Linked DNA regions of Homo sapiens: region 2 is linked to region 1. Evidence: promoter capture Hi-C in 16 types of primary human blood cells and fetal thymus (Javierre and others, 2016). All regions are on one chromosome and are shown on one strand. The core of a region is centred on a gene start or on the middle of the fragment in contact, and the rest is flanking DNA. Distances in the headings are between cores, read along the strand shown. Region 1 holds the start of TTLL3 (tubulin tyrosine ligase like 3). Region 2 overlaps FANCD2 (FA complementation group D2).

Region 1 (6,837 bases), core at 3,001-5,500:
TACACCCAGCTAATTTTTCTATTTTTTTAGTAGAGACAGGGTTTCACCATGTTGGCCCGGTTGGTCTTGAACTCCTGACCTCAGGTGATCCATCAGCCTCGGCCTCCCAAAGTGCTGGGATTACAGGTGTGAGCCACTGCTCCTGGCCTTTATTTTATTTTATTTATTTATTTTTTCAGACGGAGTCTCGCTCTGTCACCCAGGCTGGGGTGCAGTGGCGTGATCTCAGTTCACTGCAACTTCCACCTCCTGGGTTCAAGTGATTCTCCTGCCTCAGCTTCCCGAGTAGCTGGGATTACAGGCGCCTGCCACCACAGTCAGCTACTTTTTGTTGTTGTTGTTATTTGTTTGTTTTTTTATTTGTTTGTTTTTTTAGTAGAGATGGGTTTTCACCACGTTGGCCAGGCTGGTCTCGAACTCCTGACCTCAAGGAATCTGCCCGCCTCGGCCTCCCAAAAAGTGCTGGGATTACAGGTATAAGCCACCCCGCTCCGTCTCTTCCAGAGCTTTTTAAGACCTTCCTTCCTGCCTTCACTTACCAAGGGCAGCGGGGAAGGGGAACTATGGGGTTTTTATTTGAAGGGGGAGTTACCATGCATGGCGGCTGTGCTGGCATCTGGTATGACCTAGCAGAGCTCTGAATCCCAGGCCAGATGGGACACAGCCCTGCTGTGTCCCTCCCCACTCTGTGGGCCTATCTAGCCTTTATTCACTTATTTCTTTTTTAGAGATAGAGTCTTGCTTTGCTGCCCAGGTTGGAGTGCAATGGTGCGATCATAGCTCACTGCAGCCTGTAATTCCCAGGTTCAAGTGATCCTCCCACCTTAGCCTCCCGAGTAGCTGGGACTACAGGTACATGCCACCACACCCGGATAATGTTTTTCTACCTTTTTTTGTAGAGACTGAGTCTTACTATGTTGCCCAGGCTGGTCTTGAACTCCTAGCCTCAAGTTATCCTCCCACCTTGGCCTCCTGAGTAGCTGGGACCACAGGCATGAGCCACCATGTCCAGCTCTATCCAGCCTTTAAAGAAGCAGTTTTTACTACAGATAGGGAAACTGTGGCCCAGAGAAAGAAAGGACTTGTCTGAGGTCACCCAGCTGGACACCAATGCCCTCCCTCTAAGCAGGCAGTCCCTGTATCATCTTGGCCCCCAGGGCCCTCACCATCAGAGCATGTGTTCCATCTAGGTCATCAAATTTCAGTAAATCATCGAAGTCGAACAGCTGTGATGGCTGGAACTCCTCGTCCTCATCTTCATCCTCTGTGGATGCAGAGCCCAGAGCTGATGAGTTTCCTCTCCCTGACCCATAGCCCATAAGGCCTCAACTCTGGGACAGTGGGAACCAAAGGAAAAGGACTCAGGAGCAACAGCTGTGGAAAGGGAAGGAACCACTCACCATCCTCAGTGGTGTCACTGTCACCCATCGCTGAGCTATCCAGATCCTTCTGGGGTGGCAGCAGGGTGGGGCCTGAGCGATGGACCATCTTCTTCTCCACCCAGCCCCTCCGGCGCAAGAGACACCGGATCACCGGGTAGCAGCCTTGGATTGTAAAGATCTTCTTCTGCTGCAATGTGAGAGAAGGATACTTCTTCAATAAGTATTGCATAAGTGCCAGACATAGGGGATATAAAGGTGAACCAGACAGTTATGGACTCTGCCATCAGGAAATTTTTATATTCCATTAGGAGAAATAAACAGACTATAAATAAGTAGAGAAATAAATATGCATGGTAATAATGATAATAGCAATGGCTAATATTTATTGAGGACCTACTACATGCTGAGCACTTACATGCATTACTAACAATACTGTGTGTTTTTATTTTGTTTTGTTTGAGACAGGGTCTCACTCTGTTGCCCAGGCTGAAGTGTAGTGGCACAATCTCGGCTCACTGCACCCTCTTCCTCCTGGGTTCAAGCGATTCTCTTGCCTCAGTCTCCTTGAGTACCTGGGATTACAGGTGTATGCCACCACGCCCAGATAATTTTTTTTTTTTGAGACGGAGTCTTGCTCTGTTGCCCAGGCTGGAGTGGCACAATCTTGGCTCACTGCAACCTCCACCTCCCGGGTTCGAGCGATTCTCCTGCCTCAGCCTCCCCAGTAGCTGGGAGTACAGGCGTGTGCCACTGCGCCCGGCTAATTTTTGTATTTTTAGTAGAGACAGGGTTTCACCATATTGGCCACGCTGGTCTTGAACTCCTGGCCTCAGGCCAAGGCCCGCCTTGGCCTCCCAAAGTGCTGAAATTACAGGCGTCAGCCACCTCATCTGGTGCCCAAATAATTTTTATATTTTTTGGTAGAGACTGGGCTTCACTGTGTTGGCCAGGCTGGTCTCCAACTCCTGGCCTCAAGTGATCCTCCTGACTTGGCCTCCCAAAATGCTGGGATTACAGGTGTAAGCCACCGCGTCTGGCCAATACTATGCATTTTTATTAGATACTGTTATCTCCATTTTACGGGCTATGAAACAGAGGCATAGAGAAATTAAGCAGGGTGCCTGAGGCCCCATAGTGGTTAAGCAAAAGAGCAGGGATTTACATCCTGGCAGTTTGGCTCCAGAAACTGCATACTTAATGGGATCCAGAGAAACTACTTAGAAATACATGGTCAGGGAAGGTTGAAAGGAAGCCATGAATGTACAGAGCTGGGAAATGGCGGTTCAGGCAGAGGGGAATGCATGTGCAAAGGCCTTGAGGCTGGAGAGAGGTCAGAAGGAACTGAAGGGAGACCAGAGTGAGTGGAACATGGAAAATGATGGGGAAAGCCCCAGAGGAGGTAGGCAGTGGCCAGACTGTGGAAGGCCCTGCAGGCCTTGGAACGGACTTGGATTTCATACTAAGAGTGTCATGAGCAAAAAAGGCTAACTGAGGGAATCTTTCTAAGCTTGGCTTGCTGCTGTATTACAAAAAGATGAGGGGACAGGATGGAGGTAGACCAGCTAGGAGGCTGTCATAGTTTGCCTAGGAGAGAAATCACAATTACTAAAATGAAGGTGGTTACAACACAGACGGGAGAAGGTGCTAGAGTTGAGAATCGTTTTGGAGGTGGAGATGACAAGTGGTTTTGCTGATGGAATTAGACCTGTGGGTGAAGAAACAGAAAGATGAGATTTCTGGCGTGAGGAACTGAGAGATGGGAAAGACTGGAGACTGGGGAGGACGACAGGTTTGGGCAGGAAGATCAAAGTCTGGTTTGGGACATGAATTTGAAATGCTTGTTAAGTTTTCTGGGTGTAGATGACAGGTAGGGGCTAGATCTACGGGATGTGGAGTTCGAGGCTGGGCTGGAAGGGGCACGGAGAGGGTGCAGCACACTGACTGGACTCAGCCAAGGACACAGCCAAAGGAGACAGACCTGGGGAAGGGGCCAGGGGGCCACTAATGGCTGAGGAACCTTTAAAGGCCGCTGAAAAGCAGCAGCCAAAGAGGGAGAAAGGAAAACTAGGAGCGTGCAGTCAGACAGCCAAGAGGAAGGGTGTGTGGGGCAGCGGTGTCGAAAGATACAGGGTGCCCAACCGAGATCAAGACCGAAAGGCACTGCTGGGTTTGGCTCCCTGGAACTCACCAGGCACCTTGATTAGAGTGGGACATCGCAGGGAACCAGAGTGGAGGGAGCCCAGAAGTTTGGTGCTGAAGGGGTAAACGGGGAGGTAGTTGAAGATGGGTGTGGTGGTTGAGGATTTTTGCTATTGTTTTTTCTTTTGCTTTTGTTTTTTAAGGATATAAGAAAACAGCGCAGGGAGACAGGCTGAGCCGCTCCCAGGGCCCTTTCTAAGCGCCCCTGCCCCTCCTCTGACCTTGACAGCTCTCTCCACGTAGATTTTGGCGTTTCTGAGCCGGTTCATGTGAGACGCCTTGGAGGATCCTCGCCAGAGGACCGGGAAACCTGCAGAAAGATGCGGAATAGGGGCGGGGTACACTGAGGCTGGGCCTAGGGTCTCGGCCTAGGATCTTTTCTGGCCGCCCATAGCCACGCCTCTTTTCTTCCTCCTGCCTTCATCCAGATGCCCACCCTCAGCCGCTCTTCTCCCGACCCCCAGTCCCTCCACCCCAGCGTCTTGTCGTCCTCGCAGCCGCTGTAGGCCAGAGCGAGCGGGCCGCACGGGCCTCACCATCCTGCGGAGAGGGGTCGAGGACCGGGGTGTGCGGGGGGCCGAGGGGGTGGGTATCCGAGGCGCCCTGGGCGTGGGTGCCTGGGACCAGCGTCTTGAAGGCGCCGCTGAGGCGGCGCGCAGGGGCGGGGCTGCCCGCCTGGCATCTGCCGCCTGCGTGACCCTCCTCGGACTGGGCGGAGGCAGGGCCGGCCCATGGCAGCCTCCTGGGTGGACGGAACTCGGAGCGGCGCGCCGAGGGGAAACTGGTGCGTGGCTCGAGCGGCTGCGGCTTCCGCAGCCAGTTGCACACCGCGCCGCCCTCCTGGCGGTACCAGGAGGCCGAGCCCCGGCGCCCGGGCCCCAGCTCCCTCGCGCTCAGGAGCAGTGGCGCGTCGGGGCCCTGCATGCGCCCCTCGCCGCGCTCGCCCTCCCAGGGCCCCTGATCCCGCGCCCCTCCGCGTCGCCGCCTCCTCTCCCGGGAAGTTCCTGCCTAGGCTCGAGCCTTGTCCTCCGTTCCAAGCCCCGCCCCGTTTGCTATTGCCTTGGAAACCATTCCCTGGGCACCATCAGACCGCTCGGGGCTGGTTGGGGGCTGCGATGGGCCCCGGGGCAGTCGAGCGAGGGCTTCCTTATGACCTGGGGCCTCACCCAGACCCTTGATGAGCAGGGCACTGAAGGCGGAAGAGAGCACTGAGCCCCAGTTAGTTAGTGTTGCGGTTCCTTATCCAGTACTTCCTGGTGCCACCGGCCCTAGGGTTTGAGTGATTCCACAGTATTTATAGGCGCTAACAAATGGCCCCTGACCTCATGGAGCTTACTAAAAGCCCAGTGTGAGGGGAATAAAAAGCAAGTAACAAAGGAAGAGAATAGTTTACAGGTATAATAAGGGCAATGAACAAGCAGAGGTGAAACCAGGAAGGGGGCGCATTTTAGATAAAGTGGCGCATTTAAGCTGAAGGTGTAAATGCCAGGAGTCAGGAGTCACCAGGGAAAGGGGAGGAACTGCACTTCAGGGAAGGGACAGTCCCAGCAACAGCCCTGAGAAGGGTAAGAACCTCTGTGCGAACTACAAGACAGCCAGGGTGGCTGGAGCCTGGTGAGGCCAGATCAGACCTGCTGGGCCTGGCAGATGGGCCTAGGGTAAGGTCCTTAGCGAGGGCAGCATATGGGGGTAACAAGAAGGTGCAGAGCACACCCTCCCCAGAAACTGGAAATGGAAAAACAATCATTTGAGTCAACTGCGAAAGAAATGTAATAGTTCACAACAGTTATGCCTGGCCCCCAGGCTAAGACTGTAAGCAACCTTTTTGGAAGCACTGGCAAAATATTATCCTCAAAAGTCACAGGGGAGGTAAGGCTCCAAGATGTTAAACAATTTGCCTCAAATCACAGAGCAGAGGCAGCACTGGAACCCAGGTCTGACTCCAAAGCCTGTCTCTTAAACACCTGTTATCACTCAGGTTGCCTGCCAGTCACAGAAGGACCACACAGGGACAGTTTGAGAGGCAAACTCTAGCAGTGCCCCCGCAGGCAGAGTCGAAGAGTGTCCTGGTAAGAGCCCAGCTTTGTCAGTCACTGGGTAGATGTGCTCTTAAGAGTGAAGGTGGATCCCCCACCTTCCTGTCCAGCTGACCCCAACTCCCCTTTAGCTGATGGCTGGACTTCCCGAAAAGCATGCCCCCCAGGAAAGGTGATTTAGGGAATTTGGACCCTGGGAGAGAGATACATGACAAATGAGGTTTGTGGCTGGCTCACCCAGGCAATGCTGTCCTGTGAGGGTTGTTGAGTGACCAGCTGCTATATCCTATTAGTCACCCAGTTTCACTGTGAGCACCTTTAACATTCACTGCAAAGCTAGAACATAGCCATGTGCCCTGGAGGAGGGAACACCTAATTCAGAGGGGTGGCGAGGTAGGTCACAGAGGTAATGTCATAAAGGAGATGATAGCACTTTGGGAGGCTGAGGCGGGGGGATCACCCAAGGCAGCCGAGGCAACATAGTGAGACCTAAAAAAAAACAAAAACCAAAAACAAAAAAATTAGCTGGGCGTGGTGGCACAGGCCTGTGGTCCCAGCTACTCAGGAAGCTGAGGTGGGAGAATCACTTGAGCCTGGGGAAGCTGAGGCTGCAGTGAGCCATGCTTGCGCCACTGCACTCCAGCCTGGGTAACAAAGCGAGACCCTGTCTCAAAAATGAAAAAAAAAAAGGGGGGGGGAGGAGGGGGGCAATAGCTGTTCCAAGTTGCCCTTACCCCCTCCTCCCTTTAACATCACCTTGTCCACCCCATCAGAAGAAACCCCTCTGGCCATCTGGAGGAATCCCTTTTGAAAGCTCAGCTCAAAGGTTCACCCTTCTTGAAGCTTACCCTGACACCCACTCCTATATTTACCCCTTGGCCCCCAGACTTCCAATATTAAATATGAAACACTTCAGTGAACCTTTTACACACCCAGCCCTTTTCCTGGACCTCCAAGCCTCAAGGCAAGGATAAACATCATGAACACTGGAAATTATTCAACAGCCCAGCCACTGGGCTGGTGGAAAAAATATAGTTCAGTCAGTACCTGTGTAGCAGCGACCGTATCAGATTGTTTATATTCATTATCTCCACTTCATAGACTAAGAAACTGAGACACAAAATAGAAGTAACTTAGCCAAATCTGGCAAGAAGAATCAGGACTCAAACACAAGGGTCTTTTGTCTTTTTACTTCAAGGTGTTACTAAGGTCTAGTACTA
Region 2 (6,576 bases), core at 3,786-6,285, 280 kb before region 1:
TCTTACTTGTCTAGCTCCGTTCTGGTTAGCAGGCTGCCAAGATCCACAGTATCTCAAACAGGCTGGCTTACCTCATGCCAGTTAGCAGGAGGCAAACTGGGCAGTAGCCAAGGAAAAGAGAGCCCATTCCTCACCTCTAACTAGAGGGAAAGGAAATTAAACTAGGAACTCTTTGAAAAAAAATCCTGAATCTCAGAAACTCAAAACAAAACAAAAACAAAAAACAGCTTAGGAGAAAACTTGGACCCAAGACATAGAAGAATCAGCAACTACCACCGGGCGCAGTGGCGCACGTCTGTAATCTCAGCACTTTGGGAGGCCGAGGTGGGTGGATCATGAAGTCAGGAGTTCGAGACTAGCCTGGCCAACATGGTGAAACCCTGTCTCTACTAAAAAATATAAAAATTAGCCGGGTGTGGTGGCGCATGCCTGTAATCCCAGCTATTCAGGAGTCTGAGGCAGGAGAATTGCTTGAACCCAGGAGGTGAGGTTGCAGTGAGCCGAGATCATGCCACTGCACTCCAGTCTGGGCAACAGAACAAGCAAGACTCTGTCTCAGAAAAAAAAAAAAAAAAAAAAAAAAAAAATCAGCAACTTCCAAGTAATCCAAAGTCCACTTCTTGAAGTGACTATTATCTTACTCACCTGCTGCGAGTCTGCTGCTGTGCCAGGCTCAATTTTTTTCACCGTCTTCTCTAGTTCAGCCATCATCACACGGAAGAAAACAACAAAAGTATGCCTAGAAGACGGGAAAAGCATGCGTGCCCACACCATGATGCACTGCTTAGAACTACCTGGGAAGAACCAGGAACCAAAAGTAGCTTCCTTCCCTACCTCTCTAAATGTCCTTTCACTAGGGTCCTTAGTAAGAGGATGGGGGAGCGGAAAGGACTCAGTAATAAGCCCAAGAAGATTGCCTGTCAAACAATGGAATTAACTTTATGAAAGGAGGTGTTATGGTAGTATGGAAAAAGCAATGAAGTAACAGTGAGAAGATCTGAGTTTGAGTCCTGGTTCTATGTTTATTTTATTGCACGTGTAAGCTTGAGAAGTTCTCTAGCTCTCATTTTCCTCAGCAGTAAAATAGGGGCAATGATACCAACCTCACAGAATTATCAAAAGGATCAAATGAGATAAAGTGAAAGTGCTTTATAAACTGAAAAGACTACAAATGTTAAGATAACTATTGATATTCTGAGACACACACCCATTAAGTGAGACATACATGTGAGCACCCTGTTCTCAAGATGGCTAAAATATCTCAGCTGGGCACAATGGCTCATGCCTGTAATCCCAGCACTTTGAGAGGCCGAGGCAGGCAGATCACCTGAGGTTGGGTTCAAGACTAGCCTGGCCAACATGGTGAAACCCAATCTCTACTAAAAATACAAAAATTAGCCGGGTGTGGTGGTGGGTGCCTATAATCCCAGTTACTTGAAAGGCTGGGGTAGGAGAATCGTTTGAACCCAGGAGGTGGAGGTTGCAGTGAGCTGAGATTACGCCACTGCACTCCAGCCTGGGTGACAAGTTTTCTCAAAAACAAAACAAAACAATACAAAACAAAAACCACCATGGTCCTCTCAAATATATTAGCTGAGAGCCCTTGAAAGGAATGCATAACAGACTCTCTTTATTGAATGAATGATTATATCTACTGTCTGTATCAGAATTAGATGAGGAGGAGCAAGGCAGTTGTGTGGAAGCTATATACGTTGGACAGTGTGATTATGATTCTTTTTTTTTTTGAGATGGAGTTTCGCTCTTGCTGCCCAGGCTGGAGTGCAGTGGCGCGATCCCGGCTCACTGCAACCTCCGCCTCCCAGGTTCAAGCAATTCTCCTACCTCAGCCTCCTAAGTAGCTGGGATTACAGGCATGTGCCACCACGCCCGGCTAATTTTTGTATTTTTAGTAGGGACAGGGTTTCACTATGTTGGCCAAGTGGGTCTCAAAACTCCTGACCTCAAGGTGATCCTCCTGCCTCAGCCTCCCAAAGTGCTGGGATTACAGGTGTGTGCCACCGTGCCCAGCCTGATGATGATTCTATCTTAAGGGAAAAACTGGAGGAAAGAACTCCCTTACCTGGTCAGTGTAGGGAATGTGGAGGAAGATGCATCTTTAGGAGAGTTGATCAGTTCTGGGACACCAACACCAGCAATCTCCTCTATGGCCTTCAGAATGCTCTCTGTGTGCTCCAGGTAGATACTGCATTGAGAGTCAAATATTTGACCCACTAATTAACAAAGTAGAATACAACTACAGATTCCTCTAATTCCTCTATGATCTGAATTAACAATAAGCAGTTAGCTAACAGTATAAAACAGAACCAGAGGATCTTAAGATCCACATGTTCCAAATTGTGTTCATTTTTAACCTACTTCATTGTTTTCAAATTCCCACTAAAAAGGTCATTTGTCCAGTCTCTGACAAACAACAGTAGCAAAATAGAAAAAAGCTATTTGGCTCATTGGAAGAAACCAAACATCTCACCAGAGCAGAGCATGGAGCTGGTCATTAGAGATGTTGCTCTTCTCTTTATCCCCACTTGGCCACACCCGACAGAGGAATTGTCTGGCAAGGGAAGCTGTTAGAAAAGAAGACAAAGGAATCTTACATATGGGAACTTGACCTCATTCTTGCTTTTCAGGTTTTTGAGGATGATTATTGATCAAAAGGATTATTAGTTTAGATTTACTAAGACGTTCCCGGTCTAACAGGCAACTTACAAAAAGCTGTCACGTTCCTGATCCACTGGCCCTTTTGCCAGACATAAACTCATTTGCCTAAGGCTCAACACGTCCCACCCCAACCCCATCTTGAAACACACAAACATGCAAACATGAACATAAATACAGACACACAGAGAAAAGGAATGCTGCTGGGCAGTGGGAAGGCCAATCTTGTTCCTCCTGGGCTGGCCAATAGCAGTGGTCACCTCCAAGATTGAGACCAAACCTTCCCCTTTTAATCAATAGGGATAAATAAAGGTTTGTTTTGCATTTTTATCTTGCTTTCTGATGTGCTGCCAACTAGGATGAGCTGCATTCTAAGAGCTACAATAAAAGACAGTTTAAGAAAGAGGCCAGGGCTGGGCACAGTGGCTCACGTCTGTAATCCCAGCACTTTGGGAGGCTGAGGCAGGTGGATCACGAGGTCAGGAGTTCGAGACCAGCCTGACCAACATGGTGAAACCCCGTCTCCACTAAAAATACAAAAATTGGCTGGGCACGGTGGTGCGCACCTGTAATCCCAGCTACTTGAAAGGCTGAGGCAGGAGAATCGTTTGAACCTGGGAGGTAGAGGATTGCAGTGAGCCAACATCGCACCACTGCACTCCAGCCTGGGTGACAGAACGAGACTCTGTCTCAAAAAAAAAGAAAAAGGCCAGGGAAGAGGCCAGTATTTCTTTTATACTTGACCCTGATTTCTCCTTTATTTCCTACTTTATTAACCTCATGATTTATGTCTCGTTTTGTCAAATGTCTCAGATAAATTTTTTTTTTTTGAAAAGGAAGAACATGATTAAACTTAAGCCAAAGAGAAAACTATCTACTCAGCTTGTCTAACCAAACTCAGACTAAGCAATTTTAGCAGAAATCAGTCAGGTTGTTCTGGGAAAATGACCTTCTTGGTATAGCAAGAGGGCCTATCCAAGGTTATGTGGGGATTTACATGTAAAAATGTCCTGGGAAGCCCAAAGTTTGTAAGTGTGAGATATTAGTCCTATTCATTAAAAAAAAAAAAAAAAAAAGGATCTAGGCCCATCACCAATTTTTTCTTTGTTCTGAGCAGAAGCTGTTGATTTCTCCAAAATAACCATCAAAAGTCTGATGAGATAAAGAGCACACTGGAAACTGGGAATGCTTTGATGGAAATTCTGCAAGTAATGGACGCTCTGGCTGTAAGGAGACAAGAAAAACAAACAAATGCAATAGTATCCTATGTGTCACAGATATATTTAAATCCACATGACGTGCCCAAGTCCCTTTCAGTGTTTGACGGCCTAATCAGAATCCTCCTTATTTTCAGGTGCTTTAGTAGCAACCCTCTTCAAGCATCTTGGTAGAAAACCATACCTTTGTATGGAAAAAGCCAGGGCAGAAGACAGCCCCACTGATGGAATGTTGGCCTTGAAGGGGTCATGTATGCTGAGAAACCCAAGCACCACGCTAATATGTACAACCCTAGATAAATTATCTGCTCTTTAAAGCCTTAGGCAATACACTGAAAATAATTTGTAAAATCTGGGTTCACAGGCCGGGCATGGTGACTTATGCCTGTAATCCTAGCACTTTGCTAGGCTGAGACAGGCAGATCACCTGAGCTCAGGAATTAGAGACCAGCCTGGCCACATGTCGAAAACATCTCTACAAAAATATAAAAATTAGTAGGGTGTGTCAGCATGCGCCTGTAATCCCAGCGTCTTGGGAGGCTGAGGCAGTACAATCACTTGAGCCCAGGAGGTGGAGGGTGCAGTGAGCTGGGATCACTCCAGCCTGGGTGACAAAGTGAGACTCTCTCTCAAAGAAAAAAAAAAGAAGATATAAGGTCCTGACCTATAGACAGGGATGATAAGCACTGACTGCTGACCCAGTGATGGTCTAGGTTACCAAGGGAAGTGAGAGAAAGACCAAGTCACTCTGACTGAAGGGGGAGGGGGCCGAAAGCCATGCCCCTGAGATCATGTCACCTCCCTTGTCCACTGCCTACCCCTCAGCCACATAAGGTCTTCCTACAAGACAAGGGGAAAGAAACAGGCTATCAGTGATAACTAGCTGCTGCCTAATTACCCAAATCTGCTGGGAGACAGTAGGTCCCTGGATAATCAAGAGTTGATTACAGATGGTCAATGTTTTCATCATTATTACTTGAAAAGGCTGAGTTTATGGGCTGATGCATTCATGAAGATTTAGCATGATTATTCAAGGTTTCTAATACTTCAGGATTTATCAGAATACATAGATGAGAAAGCTCATATATGAGGAGAGTAGCTGAAAATAATTTCCTTTACAACTACTGAAAGACACCCAGGTTATTTTAAAGAAAGTTGCCAATCCTGTTCCTAGGAGTTTCTTGGGACAACAATCTTGGCTATGTAGTTATGACTCACCTGAGTAGTTCCTCCAAAGGCTGGCTGTGTTCTCCCTGTTTCAGTCGGCTACTAAGGACATGGAGGGCTGAATACAGTAAATTCTGATTTTCAGGTTGAGAAAATCCACTCCTAAGGAAGTCAAGGTAAGAGGGGTTAGCTTAGTTTCTGGAAAACTACTTGGATAGTATTTAAGGATCCTGGCCTCCAGTCTGTACCATCAATAGTTTAACGGTTTGAAAAAAGAATTGAGAGGTCGGGCGTGGTGGCTCACACCTGTAATCCCAGCACTTCGGGAGGCTGAGGCGGGCGAATAACGAGGTCAACACATGGAGACCATCTTGGCCAACACGGTGAAATCCCGTCTCTACTAAAAATACAAAAATTAGCTGGGTGTGGTGGCGGGCACCTGTAGTCCCAGCTACTCCAGAGGCTGAGGCAGAAGAATCGCTAGAACTCGGGAGGTGGAGGCTGCAGTGAGCCGAGATTGTGCCACTGCACTCCAGCCTGGCGACAGAGCGAGACTCCATCTCAAAAAAAAAAAAAAAAGAAAGAAAAAAGAAAAAAGAATTGAAATGGAAAGTACTGAAGTACCAAATTCAATCACAGCTCTAAGTATCAGAGTAGAAACTGAAGTACATCCAAAGTAATCTTTCCTGAAGTCTTCATAGGTTTCTTTTCTTCTTTCCTCTTTCTTTTCACAGGGGTGAGCCACCACGCCTGGGCCATAGGTTTACTTTGAAGGGCAAAAAGCTCTCCTTCATTCCCTATATTTTAGAGATATGTAGTCTTCTTCAAAAATACAGGAATAATTTTGTCAAACTGCTAAATCAATGTCCAGCCCATAGTGGTACTTACCCCTTCTCCTACATTAATGAGTCAAGTCTTGACATTTCTATCTTTGGATTACCTTTCATATTGTCCCTTCCTTTCCAAGCCTAGACCATCATTTTGGCCAGGCCCCTATCAATACATGTGTAGATCATAGTGACACCTTTTGAGTGTTCTTTTTTGCATCCCTTTTCAATCTGTCCTGCACTCTGCTGCCAGAAGTGTTTTCTTAAACCACTGCTTTCATTGTATTATGGCTGTGATCATAAAACTCCAAAATGGCTTCCCTGGACAACATTTAAATTATTCTGCCTGACCTTTGAGGCCCAGCACAATCTGACGTCCTAGATCTTCTCCTCTAGAAGCATCTTCCTGATCACCAGTGATAGTCATTCTTCCTTTCAACAAATGTATTCTGAGGGCCTATTAGGTGTCAGGTTTTTGGTCTACCATAGCTTCAATGAGATATAGTTGATGTACAATACACTTCATGTACTTAAAATGTTGAATTTGGGCCAGGTATGGTGGCTCACGCCTCTAATGCCAGCACTTTGGGAGGCTGAGGCGGGTGGATCACTTGAGCCCAGAGGTTCAAGACCAGCCTGGGGGCAACATGGCGAAACCCCGTCTCTACCAAAGAAAAAAAAAAGGAAAAATC

What was found. Contacts are between HindIII fragments. The CHiCAGO score rates a contact against its expected background, and 5 or more counts as called.
Region 2: a fragment that was not itself captured here is called in contact with the fragment with the promoter of TTLL3 in region 1 in 2 of 17 cell types (monocytes and erythroblasts); the score reaches 6.4 in monocytes.

The regions. Positions count from the first base shown.
Region 1 is chr3:9,807,675-9,814,511 of GRCh38, reverse strand. TTLL3 (tubulin tyrosine ligase like 3) reads right to left here and starts at 4,250. Exons shown (of 14, transcript NM_001387446.1): 1 at 4,118-4,250; 2 at 3,803-3,891; 3 at 1,401-1,569; 4 at 1,167-1,264. The coding sequence starts at 3,850. ARPC4-TTLL3 (ARPC4-TTLL3 readthrough) reads right to left here. Exons shown (of 12, transcript NM_001198793.1): 5 at 1,401-1,569; 6 at 1,167-1,264. RefSeq lists a silencer at 4,069-4,548 and an enhancer at 5,029-5,178. The HindIII fragment of the contact is 3,571 bases long and covers 2,892-6,462 here.
Region 2 is chr3:10,084,455-10,091,030 of GRCh38, reverse strand. FANCD2 (FA complementation group D2) reads right to left here. Exons shown (of 44, transcript NM_001018115.3): 33 at 5,109-5,219; 34 at 3,767-3,897; 35 at 2,489-2,582; 36 at 2,081-2,203; 37 at 646-739. It also overlaps a transcript of FANCD2OS not described here. Among named protein-coding and RNA genes, the nearest start is that of FANCD2OS, 21 kb to the left of the region's middle. The HindIII fragment of the contact is 7,979 bases long and covers 1,046-6,576 here.